Linked DNA regions of Homo sapiens: all the other regions are linked to region 3. Evidence: promoter capture Hi-C in 16 types of primary human blood cells and fetal thymus (Javierre and others, 2016). All regions are on one chromosome and are shown on one strand. Each heading gives the region's core, a stretch centred on a gene start or on the middle of the fragment in contact. The rest is flanking DNA. Distances are from core to core; before and after follow the strand shown.

Region 1 (2,700 bases), core at 201-2,700, 370 kb before region 3:
AGGGGCTTGGGAGGGTGGTACCCAGCAAGATACCCAGCAGGTGCATGCGAGTCTATCAGGGAAGGTTTTGTGGAGAAGGTGGGGTTGAAACAGAGGCTTAGAGAAGGCCCCACACAGCAGCTCATGCCTGTAATCCCAGCACTTTGGGAGGCCAAGGCAGGTGGATCACCTGAGGTCAGGAGTTCGAGACCAGCATGACCAATATGGTGAAACCCCATCTCTACTAAAAATACAAAAATCAGGCCGGGCGTGGTGGCTCACGCCTGTAATCCCAGCACTTTGGGAGGCCGAGGCAGATGGATCATGAGGTCAGGAGATCGAGAGCATCCTGATGAACACCGTGAAACCCCATCTCTACTAAAAATACAACAACAACAACAAAAATTAGCTGTTAGCTGGGCATGGTAGTGGGCGCCTGTAGTCCCAGCTACTCAGGAGGCCGAGGCAGGGGAATTGCTTGAACCTGGGAGGAGGAGGTTGCAGTGAGCCGAGATCACACCACTGCACTCCAGCCCGGGTGACAGAGTGTGACTCCGTCTCAAAAAAACCCAAAAAAACAAAAAAAACCCTAAAAATTAGCCAGGCGTGGTGGCCCACATCTGTAATCCCAGCTACTCGGGAGGCTAAGGCAGGAGAATTGCTTGAACCCGGGAGGCAGAGGTTGCAGTGAGCCCAGATCACACCTCTGCACTCCTGGCTGGGTGGCAGAGTGAGACTCTGTCTCAAAACAAAAACAAAAAACCAAATAGTCTTAGAGGAGTAGTGGGATGGAGAAGTGTTATGAGCAGAAGGCTCTGCCGCAGAGAGACAGAAGTTGAGAAGGGCAGGGTGGTGACGGTGGAGCTTCAGGAACCAGGAGCAGGGACTTGTGGGATCCAAGGGAAGGCATGGGATTGGGGCGGGGTGGACTAGGCTAAATGCTGCTGGCAGGGCAGGTCCATAAGCGCAGGTCCTTGAGGCATCCCCAAGGCACTGCGGCTGTCCCGCATGACCTCCCAGGGACTCTCCTTGCAGCTGCGCCAGGGCCCCGCGGGGCTGGGGCCCAAAAAGCGTGCGGAGCCTCAGCTGGTGGAGACCCAGAATGTGCGGCTTATTGAGGTGGAGCGCAGTGTGAGTGTGGGCCCACAGTGGGCCCTGGGGAGGTGCCCCGTGCAGTGTGAGTGTGGGTCCACGGTGGACCCTGGGCTGGGGGGTATCCCGTGCAGTGTGAGTGTGGACTCACAGTGGGCCCGGGGGTGGGGGTGCCCCATGCAGTGTGAGTGTGGGCCTGTGGTAGGCACTAGGGGGTGCCCCCGCCACCTGGCTATTGCTAACCCCCACTTCTGGGCAGAATGCGATGCTGGTGGCAGAGAAGGCAGCTTTGCAGGGGCAGCTGCAGCACCTGGAGGGGCAGCTGGGGAGCCTGCAGGGCCGTGCCCAGGAGCTGCTGCTGCAGAGCCAGCGGGCGCAGGAGCACAGCAGCCGCCTGCAGGTGGGTGGTGGCCCGGGTGCCCATCCCTGCCCATGTACTGCCCCCTCCTGCTCCTTTTGGATCATCCTGTGGCCTTTTTCTATCCCAGCTCCCAGCCAGCTGCCCCACCTCTTCCCCAGTCTCATTTATCCTTGTCCTCTGACCCCAGCCACCATTTTGCACCATCCTCCCTGCCACTATCTCCTCCTACCTGCCGCCAGCCCCCACATCTACACCCATGTCGCCCTGCGCTCTCACTGTCCCAGCCCTCCCCTCCACAGGGCGCCATTAGTCCCATTCTGCCCTGTGCCCCTTCCGGACAGCCTGGCCCAGCCAGCCTCTGCCGCCTCTCCCCTGCTCACCATCAGCCTCTGGCTGGGGCTTGTACTGCCTGCTGTGCCCCCAGCCCTTTGCCTCCTCCACAACTCTCTCATTGTCTTGGGCCCTACCGTCTGCCCTTAGCCCCCCGCCTCTCACTCGATTTCCAGCCAGGGGTTCCTCCCCAGCAGCCCCTGCTTCCCTCCTCCATCCTAGGCCGAGAAGTCTGTGCTGGAGATTCAGGGCCAGGAGCTGCACCGGAAGCTGGAGGTGCTGGAGGAGGAGGTGCGGGCGGCACGGCAGTCCCAGGAGGAGACCCGCGGGCAGCAGCAGGCCCTGCTTCGGGACCACAAGGCCCTGGCACAGCTGCAGCGGCGGCAGGAGGCCGAGCTAGAGGGACTGCTGGTGCGGCACCGAGACCTCAAGGCCAACATGCGGGCACTGGAGCTGGCCCACCGGGAGCTGCAGGGCCGGTGAGCATCACCAAATGCCCAGCTCCTCCCCTGGCACCCCCTATCTGCCAGAGAAGACTCCCCTCAGCAGGTCTGACTCCCCATCAGGAAGCACCTCCACCTCCGCTCTGTGATGCCCCGGCCACTGCTGTGCCCTCTGGGGTAGCTGTGCTCCCCACACTTCTGGGTTGGGCTCCCCGTGGGGCTCACCTATTGGGAGTGGTGGGCACCTGGCATGGCATTCTGCCCAATGGCTTCCTCTGGGGGACCTAGGCTTAGGAGGTGACAGACCCCCCCGCCCCGGGTCCAGATAGTCCAGCCAGCTGCTTGTGGTGGCCATAGGTTCACACAGCCCTCTTAGCCCCTTGTCCATCCCAGGCACGAGCAGCTGCAGGCCCAGCGGGCCAGCGTGGAGGCACAGGAGGTGGCCCTGCTGGCAGAGCGTGAACGCCTGATGCAAGATGGGCATCGGCAGCGGGG
Region 2 (2,703 bases), core at 78-2,577, 300 kb before region 3:
CTGGAGTGAGATGCATAGAGTCAGAGAGTGGAATGGTGGGTGCCAGGGGCTGGGGGAGGGGCAAATGGGGGGTTAGTGTGGAGTTCTGGTTGGGAAGATGAAAAAGTTCTGGAGCTGAATGGTGGGGATGGTCACACAACAATGCACTTAATGTCACTGGACTGTATACTTAAGAATGGCTAAAATGATAAATTTTACGATATACATATTTCACCACAATAAAAGTTAAAAAGAATAATTTAGATAAACCCTGGGAAGGTGTTCATCAAGGTTTCCAAAATGCCAGGTGGTCCTGGTCTTAGTCAGGTGTCTGGATGGAGAATGCTGGTGCCCCAACTCCTCCTCCTGTCTGTGCCCACACGCAGTGCTGGGCCGGACACTTGTCTGTCCTGAGGGGAATGTGCAGCCTCTGGGCCTCCCTGGAGAGAACAGGTGAAGGAATGCCTGGGGCTCTCTCTGTGCCCTCCTCGGGAGGAAACGGGACCCAGGCGATCTTGGACAGAAGCAGGGTCCCGAGCAGGGGATCACTAGCTGCTTCCGTCCGTCTCTCTTCGGCCCTCCTGTCTGCCAGCTGCACCTCTGCTCTCTTCCAAGGGGCAGCCCCCACCAGGGGCAGTTGTCCAGCTCTTGTGCCTGGGCCGGCACTGGCAAGTTCATTTCCATGGGCATAAGCAGTCTCCATTCTGGCTTGGCAGCAATAAACCTGGCACTGGATGTTGTCCTGGTCCATACATATGTGCCAATCGGTCCAGACTCCTAGAGCTCAACAAATGGTCCTGTGAGAGCCTGGCGCTGTGTGAGCCCGGGAAGGCAGTGCAGTGCAGTGGCCAGGTCATGTCACCCAGGCTAGGGCTTGGCCTTCTGGGGAGCACAGCGAGGGATGGCCTGCCCTAAGGAAGGCCCTCTCTGAGGTGGGGATGGTTTTCCAGGGTTCCCTGGGCTCCCAGGTGCTCCCTCCTCCCCTGTACCCCACTCTTCCATACCCCGGGGCTCATCCCTTCTCCACTTGGGTCCTTGTTCCACTGAAAATCTCCCCCTACCCTCCCATCTCATGGTTTTCTTCCTCCCCGCTGGCTCTGCCTTCCCTTCAACCAGCACCAATGCCAAAATCAGCACCAGGAGCTGCCATTCATATCGTCTCTACCATATGCCCATTTGAATCCTTATTGACAAGCTTGTGACCTTTGTCAAATTAGTGACCTATCTGAGCCTCAGTTTCCTTTCCTGTAAAATGGGCACATTAATACCTATTTTACAGATGGTTGTGAGATGGGTCGTGCCTGACACCATTTGGCGCTCAGCCAACTCTTGTTTGTTTCGTCGATTCTGCTGGGTTGCCTGGCATTTTGATTTATCTTTAATTCATACCTTTGAATCTGCTGTAAACTTGGCAGCCACATCACCAAGCTCGTTAGATTGCAGGTTGGGAAGCCTAATTAGGTTCTAAGGAGGTTAGAAATCTGTCCTCAGGGACAAGTTCTCAAGCTTTAGAATGTGGACTCATGACGTCATTTTGGTCCCTGGAGGCATTCTTCTCTAGCTGTATGTGGGAAGCTCTGTGTTCCAGGCTGTGAGGCTGCCAGGCAACAAAGTTTCCCAAGTCTCAAGGAGCCATGTTGTGAGTGTTTGACAGCCAGGTCTTGGAAAGGAAGGCCAACATGCCCTGGGCTGATCAGACTCCATCATGTTGACTCCTGGGAGGCACATTTTTGAGAAACAATTAGGAACCAGGAAGCATTCTGAGGAGGAAAGCCAGGATAAAGAAGACTCAGATAAAAAAGTCATCCCACCAGGTCTGGATGCAGTGTGACTGTATCAGTCAGCTTTTGCTGGGTTATGCCAAGTAACAAACAGGTACCAAACTCAGTGGCTTATAATAATTATAATAAAAAGGGTTGTTCTTATTAATGTTGCACATTGCCTGCAGTAGGTGTGAGCCTGTTCTATGTTTTTTTCATTCTAGGATTCAGGCTGAAAGATCAGCTATGAAACTGCTGGTTTTGAGGCACAGGAAAAAGAGTGATGGCAGAACTGAGAAATGACTTTAAAGCCTCTGCTCAGAAGTGGCTTATATCCCTCTGTTCACATTTTATTGGCCACAGAGAATCACATGATCAAATATGTCTTCAGACTTGATGGGCTTAGGGAGATACCATGCTCCCACAGGGAGGGGTGGTAACTATTTGGCCAGCACAGAGTAGATACCAACAGTTATTAAACTGTTTGTTGAATGAATGAATAGATGAATTCTCTGATCCTGGAAGGATTTAAATAAAGAATGGATGACCATTTGTATTACCTATCTATTGCTGCATAACAAATTATTAAAAAACAGTCTGGGTGTGGTGGCTCTCACCTGTAATCCCAGCACTTTGGGAGACTGAGGTGGGAGGATGGCTTGAGCTCAGGAGTTTGAGATGAGCCTGGGCAATGGAGCAAGACCTCATCTCTATTAAAAAAGTTTATTAAAAAACTTAGTGGCTTAAAGCAACAATAAACATTTATTATCTCACATAGTGTCTGTGGGGCAGTAATTCTGGAATGGTTTACTTAGCAGGATGGCTCAGATTTGAGGTTTCTCATGAGATTGTAGCCAAGTTATTGATCAGAGCTGCAGCCATTTATAGGCTCCACTGCCAAAAGGCTCTGATTCCAGGATGAGTCACTGACATAGACGGGGAATTGGGACTGGCTGTTAGCAGG
Region 3 (2,755 bases), core at 147-2,646:
AAAAACAGGGCTATCTGGAAGCCCCCAGGGCAGCCAAGGGACTGGGGACCCAAGACCCACCCCCTAAAAATCTATTTCATTATTCCAGGTGGACAGCCTCCTCCTTCACCTCCAGACACCAAGAAAAAGCCCCTCCCAGCCCTTGCTAGCTCAATGAGGCATCGAATGCCCTCTCCCAAGATTCAGGAGGGGGGTGAGAGTAAAGGAGACAACAGCACCCCAAAGCCAATTGTGCCCCAAAAGCCCATCAAGGGTTCAAGGGCTCATACCCCAACCCAAAGACCCCAGGGAAGATTGCTGCTTCAGCTGGGGGAGGAGGCTGGGACATGAGAAATGGTCCCTTCCTCTTTAGGGGTGGGGGAGCAAGCCAAGGGCCCTGCAGCTTCCTCTCCCCCTGCAGCACTCTCTGACCAGAACCCTGTCACCGCCCCCAGCGCATTCCCACCCCAGCAAAGCCCCCTCCTACTGATTTCCCAGTCTCCCTGTCTCATCACCCCCAGCCTTCCCCCGCAAGCTTCCGCTCCTCTCCCTCAGACCCCATCTTTCCCAGCTCTCCACCAGCACAGACCCATCTCTGCCTGGAGCACCTTGGCACATTCCCCTCTGCTCTCTCCCAATAACCTCTTCTCCCCTTGGCTCCCATCCCCCAGGAAAGCCTGGTCCTCAGTGGGTCCCCTCAGGACGAAGCCCTTGGCCTGGCCCCTTTCCTTCCCTCTCCACTTCTCTCTCTTCTCCAGCCCCCTCTCCTCTCCTCCCACGAAGCCCAGTTTCTCGCTGGTTAGACCCTCCAGAACACAACAGCTCCTCTGGCCCGGCGCTGCTTCAAGCCTCTGGGGCTAGCACAGACTGGGGACCCCCCTTTAAGAACCCCCTCTAAGTCCTCTGGATGCCCCTCCTCTCTCCATCCCTTCCCCCAAAGACCCTTCCTCCCACCCCTCCCCATTCTCCTCAGCTCTCAGGGCCAGTGCCCCTTCCACAGGAGCCTCCGACCCCCAAGCCCCCAGCGGCTTTGCCTCCTCGCTGTCACCGGGCCAGCCCTCTCAGCGCGGCGCCCCCGCCCCCCAATTCATCCGTCCTGCCTCCCTCGCCCCCTCCGATCCGCTCCCCTCCCCCGATCGGCTCCCGCCCCCCGCCCGTCTCCGCCGCAGCGCCCCCCCCCCCCCATTTTACCTGGTTCTCGGGGCGCCAGAAGCTGGAGGGTGGGTAGCAGAGCTACAGGGCCGCCCCGTCTCCGACGGGTGGCAGAGCCAGGGCTAGCGGTGTCTGCCGCCTCGCGCCTCTCTCCCTCCCCGCCGCGTCCCCGCCCGCCCGCCCGCCCCGCCGCGGTGCCTCTCCGAGGAGGATGCTCCGCGAGTCAGGGCGGCTGCTCCCGCCGCCGCATCCCTGCAACACCGACTGACGGCAGCATCAGCACCAGTGCCCGCCCCCGAGACGCGCGCATTGGACCACGCTGCGCTGACGGGCGAGCAGCGCAGCCAATGCAAGGGCTCAGAAGCCGCCAGTCCAGCGGCTCCACAGGCCCACTCCCTCCCTCGCGCGGGACCCAGGCGTCCCGGCCCCAGCACCCGCGCTCCTCCCAGCCTCTCGAGGTTCTCGGGCGCCCGGGCCCCCAACCAGGCGGGCCCCAAACCCGGCCTCAGTGTCTTTTCCGGGAACCCAAGCACTCTCGCCCCTCGCCCCTCGCCCCTTAGTTCGGGGCCTTGGGTCCCGCACCCTCCCCCCACGGCCAGCAGGTCTTCGCGCAGCGCGGGGCTGGGACAAGCCGAAGGAGAGGCTGTGGACCCCGACTTGGGACGCCGCGAGAGCAGGGCTGATGCGGGGCCTGGGCCGCAGCGCCCTCTGCTGGCTACCCCCAGGGGCGGGCCCGGGCTTCGAGGAGCCTAGAGAAGGGGGACTCGGTGGGTCCATGGCTGCTGGGGGCTTTTTCCAGTCGGTAGCCTGGCCCCCACCTCCCACCGTCCGGAGGGCCCCTGGCTTGGAGCCCCCAGAACTGAAGAGGAAGGGGCTTTGCTGGGATAAAGACGGAGGCGGTGGGGGAAGGAAAGGCAGAGATGGGGGCGGGGTAGACCTAGGAACTTGGGGGTTTCCCAGTCCTGCCTCATGGGAATCCCAGAGTTTGAGGCCAAACTCTCAGTTCTGCCTGGAACCCTGGACCGAGGTACGAGTAGGTGTGGGGGCAGGGTTGCGCCTGCACATGCCTGGTGACTGAGGGCACCTGGCAGCAGCCCCCTTCTCTGTTCTCCTCCTCCCATCCATGAGTTTCAGTTAGAGTGGTGCTGGGGGGCGCAGGTCTCTCCTGTAAGGGTACATGCATCACTGTGCATGTGTATGAGTGTGGGGGACTGGGGGACACCCTTCACTCACTCCGCCAATAAAAGTGTACACACACTGGCACTTAGTGTGTATACCCCGAGGTTGGTCACTGGGCTGCTGAATGAGACAGTGAGAGACAGAGTGTGTGTGTGTATGTGTGCCAGACCATTCTGCCAGCTCACTCCAGGACCCTGGTTTCTGTTGCAGGGTCTGTGATCTGCACAGCTGGTGGTAGTTGGCACTTCCTTAGCCAGAGGCAACATGCAAGAACACTTACATTCAACCACCAATGCATGGACATTGGGGCACTCACAGCCATGCACACATATCTGTGAACACTGGGCATTCCCAGAGACACATAAGAACACCTGCAGAAATGCCCCACCATGGTAACACACCCACAGGAAGCATATACTGCCCAAGAACACACACACTTGTGCAC
Region 4 (2,765 bases), core at 226-2,725, 270 kb before region 3:
TTTCCCAAGAGTCTGGAGAGGGGACAGAGACTGGACGTGGTGTGTCCTGCCTGAGCCGAGTCATCTGGTTACGAGGGCAGGGGCAGGCTGGGGTGGGGCTCATGCGCCCCGGAAGCACCCTGGCTCCTCGCTCTCCCATGCCTCTCCCTTTATGTCCTCTGCTGTCCAGCGCCTGGGCCCCGGCCCTCCCTGGGACACCATCCTGCCCTGCCCGAGTCGTGGCTCTCCAGTCTCTTTCGGGGACTCGCCCCTGGCACCCACTAGATGGCGCTCCCGGCCACTCAGCTCCCCCTGCCTCGCTTGGGGTGGTGCTGGACGTCGGGAGCGCTGGCCTCTGCTCTGCTGATTTGCAGGTGGGAGTGCAGGGTGAGCCCGGCGCAGGGGATAGGAGGTGGGGGAGTCGAGAGCTGGAGTCAGGCGCCGCTCACGCTGGGATGACGGAGTGTTAACCTCAGACTCTGGGTCCCTTTGGGCCGAAGCTTTAAGAAAACAGGGGCAGCGAGCCCGGCGTCCCAAGGAGCCTTGCCAAACTGGGCATGGAGAACGGGCCTCCTGGATGGCCACCCGCCCAGCTGCCAAAGAGGCCGGAGAGCTGGAGCCGGGACTTGGAGGATCTTCTTCAGAGAGGCAGGAGGGCGGTCCGAACGTGCCCCCACCCCTGACCTCAAGCCCATGTGGAGAGGGCCAACAGAGCCTCTTGGAGAGCTGGATTTGCGTCCTCTGCAGCTTGGGGGACACGTCGTTGATGGTGACTGACACGCCCCAGAGATAGTGACATGATGATTAAGAGTGACAGCCTGAGGGAGCTGAGCGCAGCATGGCTGGTCTGGCAGCTGCTGTCGGTGTCGCGACCCCACCCCACTTCCCCGGCTCCCTGCCTCCTTCGCTGGAGAAGCATCCTCAGCCAATGGAGCCACAATACCTGGTACGTTCAGGCGACGCCCACAGCCCACGGCTAACTGTACAAAAGACTGTTCCCTCGCCTGCCTCTAGATGGCGATACCTCTGCCCCAGGGCCCCCTGCATATCTGCCAGAGCTGTATTTACCCTGGGACCACGCCTTTACCGAGTCCTTTCTCCTTCCCCGCCCCTCTGCCCTCACATCCTGGGCGGCTTGTCCCAGGATGAGCCCTCCCCTAGTAAATCCCTGTCTTGGGCTCTGTTTTCAGACAGCTGAAGGCAGGGAACAGCAGGAGGGGCCCCAGGAAGCTGGCCCCAAGGACGGGATGCTGCAGGAGGATGCCCCGCTGGCCCCTGGTGACTGGAGCCCGTTGCGGAGGCCCCTGGCACGAGGTGGCAGAGCAGCTGCTCAGGCCTCCGCCTGTGGTCACCTGGGACAGGACTCAGGTGGACGGGGATGCCCGGCTCGTTTAATATCACTGATGTTGAGAGACAGATGGGAAAATAGCCGTGAGAAGGACGTGGAGTGGGGAGGCTGTCACTGAATACTACTGACACTTAGAAGAGGGAAAATGACAAGTTCAGGGCCACGCATCACCAATTTAAAGCAAAGTCAGGATTCCTTGGCAGAATTTAACGAAATGCTTCTCTTCTATAGCCAGGGGTCAGAGGGCAGAAGACAAGGTGCAGGACTCCAGAGAAGGCCAAATTTCCAGCCCAGGGAAGTCCCTTCTCCAAAGTCAGGGCCCCAAAGGGAAGGGTGGGGTCCCTGATATCTGAGATGGACTATCTGAGGAGACACTCTTGAGACATTGAACCCCCAGATTCTCCTGTACCTCCTGGCCTGCAGAAGTGACCCATTGCCTCTGTTGGAAGACAGAGGTCCTCTTTTGCTTAAAGACCATGCAGAAACTAAGGGAAGGGACCTTACAAGATAAGGAGTTCCTCTCTCCAGCATCTGTCCCCACCTCCCCTCCTGACCACCAGGCTCAAAGCTGGATCATATCTCAGCATGACCTGACCAAGGATGTGCTTTGCATGCCAGGGACCAAGAGGGATTAACAAGCAGAGGAGTGGTGGGAGCAAGCCAGCAGGGACCAGCCGGGTCTAGAGAATGTTCCTAGATGTGGACTCTGAAGGTTCTAGATCAAGGGAGGCTGCATAGTAGCTGGAGACTGGAGAGTTAATTAGTACAGAAAGACTCCCTAACCCCTAAAAAGGCCCTGGGAAGATTCTAATATGTTGCTTGGGAGGGTTCTTTTTTTTTGAGACAGAATTTCTCTCTGTCGCCCAGGCTGGAGTACAGTGGTGCGATCTTGGCTCTGCAACCTCCACTTCCCAGGTTCAAGCGATCCTCCTGTCTCAGCCTCCCGAGTACCTGGGATTACAGGCATGCACCACCATGCCCAGATAATGTATTGTTTTTTTTTTTTTTAGTGGAGATGGGATTTTGCCATGTTGGCCAGGCTGGTCTCGAACTCTTGACCTCAAGTGATCTGTCCACCTTGGCCTCCCAAAGTGCTGGGATTACAGGTGTGAGCCACAGTGCCCAGCACTTGAGGCAGTTCTTGAAAGCTTGGAAGAAGTGATAGTGCATAGGCGATGAAGTGGAGATGTCAGAACAGCCCTGGAGGAAGGTATGCAAAGTCTCAGAGAAGTGGACACGCCAGAATGGCTCTTCTATTGTAGGTTGTACAGGAAAACAGTGTGACAAGAGTGATGCCATCTTAAAACCGCCATATGATGATGAATGTTTCACCCCCATATACCAAGCTGCTCTGCAGTAAGCTCTTTAAACAATGCCTGTACCATACATAACCCTTTGTAAAGATGCTTAGCTAACCCCCTCCCCAAGTGGCTATGAG
Region 5 (2,700 bases), core at 32-2,531, 420 kb after region 3:
TGCCTCGGCCTCCCAAAGTGCTGGAATTACAGGCGTGAGCTACCGCGCCCCGCAATATATTGATTTTCAATATAGGTAACAAGGCAATTCAATGGTGAAAGATGATTTTTCTTTCTTTTTTTTTTTTTTTTTGAGACAGAGTCTTGCTCTGTCACCCAGGCTGGAGTGCAGTGGTGTGATTTTGGCTCACTGAAACCTCCACCTCCTGGGGTTCAAGCATTTCTCCTGCCTCAGCCTCCCAAGTAGCTGGGATTACAGGCGCGTGTCACCACACCCGGCTAATTTTTGTATTTTTAGTAGAAACGGGGTTTCACCATGTTTGTCAGGCTGATCTCGAACTCCTGACCTCAGGTGATTCGCCTGCCTCAGTCTCCCAAATTGCTGGGATTACAGGCATGAGCCACCATGCCCGGCCGAAAGATGATTTTTCAACAAAAGTGCTGAAATAATTGGATATCCATATGAAAACAAAAAACCTCATTCCCTACCTTGCATCGTATACAACACTTAACTTGAAATGAACCGTAGGTCTAAATGTAAAACATAAAACTGTAATATCTCTAGAAGAAAACAAAAAAATCTTAGTAATGTTGGGTTAGGCAAAAATGTCTTAAATAGGATACAAATAGCATAAACTATCAAAGAAACAAATTGATAAATTGGATTTAATCCTAACTAAACACTTTATCTGTTCAAATGACAGTTAAAGGGAGAAAAATTGGGAGAAAATATTTGCCAAGCGTATATCTGACAAAGGACTCATATTGAGAATACATATTATAACTTACTAATAAAAAAATGAAAAGCTAATACAAAATGGGCCAACATTTTGAGCAGACATTTAATCAAAGGTATTCAGATGAGAATAATCCCATAAAATGTGCTCAACACCATCATTATTAGATAAATTCATTGAAAGCAATGCCATACTATTAGTACTAGAATAGTTAAATTAAAAAGATGTCATACAAAGTGGTGGTAATGATGTGGAACACCTAGAATTATCTTAGATTGCAGGTGGGAATACAAAACGGTATAGCCATATTGAAAAAAGGTTCGGTAATTTCTTATAAAGTTAAGTATACATTTACCATATGACCCAGCAATTCCGTTCTTAAGTTACCCAAGATAAATGCAAATATATGTTCATAGAACTAGTGACAGAGAGCATCTCAAGTAGTTGCCAGGGACAGAGGCTAGGGGAGAGGACAGATTGCTCTATGGCACAAGCAAACTTTTTGGATAGTGGAAACATTCTCTATATCATGGTAGTGGTGGTAATTACCTGACTTATACATGTTTGTTAAAGCACACCAAATTGTGTAAGTGACTAATCTTATTGTATGTTAAAACTGGCAAATCTTATTGTATTAACATACAATTATATCTCAGTTAAGTTGACATAAAAGTTGTTGAAAGCAAACTTACATTTTGACCTGGATTTTCCCCTTTCAGGAATCTATCTTGTTGAAGAGCTTGTACATGACCCCAAAGATTTTAAGTCCAAGGATGATTGCCACAGCATTGTTTGAAATAGTGAAACAAGACAATAGAACCACATATCCATTAGGGAGAGAATGGTTAGGTCTGTCTTTTAAATTTTTATTTGTTCGTTTGTTTACTGTATTTTTTGTAGAGTCAGAGTCTTGCCATGTTGCGCAGGCTGGTCTCCAACTCCTGAGCTCAAGCAATCCTCTCAGCCTTGGCAACATAGTGAGACCCCCCTCCTACAAAAAATAAATTATCCAGGTGTGGTGGCTGTAGTCTCAGCTACTCAAGAGGCTGTGGTGGGAGGATTGCTCAAGCCCAGGAGTTCAAGGCTGCAGTGAGCTATGATCCTAAGATCATGCCACTGCACTCCAGCCAGAGTGACAGAGAGAGACCCTATCTCTAAAAGAAAGAAAAAGAAAAGAAAATGGTTAATAAGCACAAAAAAATATGTTAAACATCACTGGTCATTATGGAGATGTAAATCAAAACCATAGAGAGATGATTTCATACCCACTAAAATCATTGTGATAAAAAAAAGACCAACAATAACAAGTGTTGGCAAGATGTGGAGAAATTGGCACCCTTATGTGTTTCTGGTGGGAATGTAAAATAGTGTAAATGCTTTGGAAAACAGTTTGGCAGTTCTTCAGTAAATTAAACATAAAATTACCATATGACCCAGAAATTCTACTTCTAGGTATATGTTCAAGAGAACTGAAAGCATCTGGTCATACAAACACTTGTACAAGAACATTCGTAGCAGCATTATTCATAATAGCCAAAAAGTACAAACAACCCAAATGTCCATGAATGGCTAAACAAAATGTAATGTACCCACACAATGGAGTATTATTTAGCCATAAACAGGAAGGAAGTACTGCTTCATGCTACAACATTGATGAACCTTGAAAACCCTGTGCTCAGTGAAAAAAGCATTCATATCACTGCACTTACGTTACATGTCCAGAATAGACAAGTCCATACAGACAGAAGTAGTTAGTGGTTGCCAAGGGCTGGTGGCGTGAGGAATGGGGCCTGACTGCTAATTGGTATGGGGTTTATTATTTGAGGAGTGATAAAAATGTTCCTGAGGAGATAGTGGCTATGCTTGCACAATTTTGTGAGTATACTAAAAATGACCGAATTGTACACTTTATTTATTTTGAGACACAGTCTCGCTCTGTTGCGAAAGCTGTAGTGCAGTGGCGC

What was found. Contacts are between HindIII fragments. The CHiCAGO score rates a contact against its expected background, and 5 or more counts as called.
Region 1: a contact is called between a fragment that was not itself captured here and the fragment with the promoter of NRXN2 in region 3, in 1 of 17 cell types (M0 macrophages). The highest score is 6.8, in M0 macrophages.
Region 2: a contact is called between a fragment that was not itself captured here and the fragment with the promoter of NRXN2 in region 3, in 6 of 17 cell types (endothelial precursors, M1 macrophages, M2 macrophages and 3 more). The highest score is 9.6, in endothelial precursors.
Region 4: a contact is called between a fragment that was not itself captured here and the fragment with the promoter of NRXN2 in region 3, in 2 of 17 cell types (megakaryocytes and M0 macrophages). The highest score is 7.2, in megakaryocytes.
Region 5: a fragment that was not itself captured here is called in contact with the fragment with the promoter of NRXN2 in region 3 in 1 of 17 cell types (neutrophils); the score reaches 6.8 in neutrophils.

Annotation. Positions count from the first base shown.
Region 1 is chr11:64,350,146-64,352,845 of GRCh38, forward strand. CCDC88B (coiled-coil domain containing 88B) reads left to right here. Exons shown (of 27, transcript NM_032251.6): 17 at 1,015-1,110; 18 at 1,331-1,471; 19 at 1,985-2,241; 20 at 2,599-2,700. Among named protein-coding and RNA genes, the nearest start is that of RPS6KA4, 7.7 kb to the right of the region's middle. The HindIII fragment of the contact is 5,801 bases long and covers 1-2,700 here.
Region 2 is chr11:64,418,769-64,421,471 of GRCh38, forward strand. It overlaps LOC105369341 (a long non-coding RNA gene), which reads right to left and starts at 1,447. Exons shown (of 4, transcript XR_001748069.2): 1 at 1,369-1,447. LOC124902689 (a long non-coding RNA gene) reads left to right here. Exons shown (of 2, transcript XR_007062720.1): 1 at 1-1,854; 2 at 1,964-2,302. The HindIII fragment of the contact is 311 bases long and covers 1,173-1,483 here.
Region 3 is chr11:64,721,801-64,724,555 of GRCh38, forward strand. It overlaps NRXN2 (neurexin 2), which reads right to left and starts at 1,397. Exons shown (of 23, transcript NM_015080.4): 1 at 1,171-1,397. RefSeq lists silencers at 1,277-1,571, 1,558-1,857 and an enhancer at 2,238-2,287. The HindIII fragment of the contact is 9,459 bases long and covers 513-2,755 here.
Region 4 is chr11:64,448,728-64,451,492 of GRCh38, forward strand. It overlaps LINC02724 (long intergenic non-protein coding RNA 2724), which reads left to right and starts at 330. Exons shown (of 2, transcript NR_073177.1): 1 at 330-925; 2 at 1,170-2,765. RefSeq lists an enhancer at 669-918, a cis regulatory region at 808-1,077 and a silencer at 855-1,050. The HindIII fragment of the contact is 1,996 bases long and covers 478-2,473 here.
Region 5 is chr11:65,139,611-65,142,310 of GRCh38, forward strand. No RefSeq gene overlaps it. Among named protein-coding and RNA genes, the nearest start is that of SYVN1, 6.4 kb to the left of the region's middle. The HindIII fragment of the contact is 8,517 bases long and covers 1-2,700 here.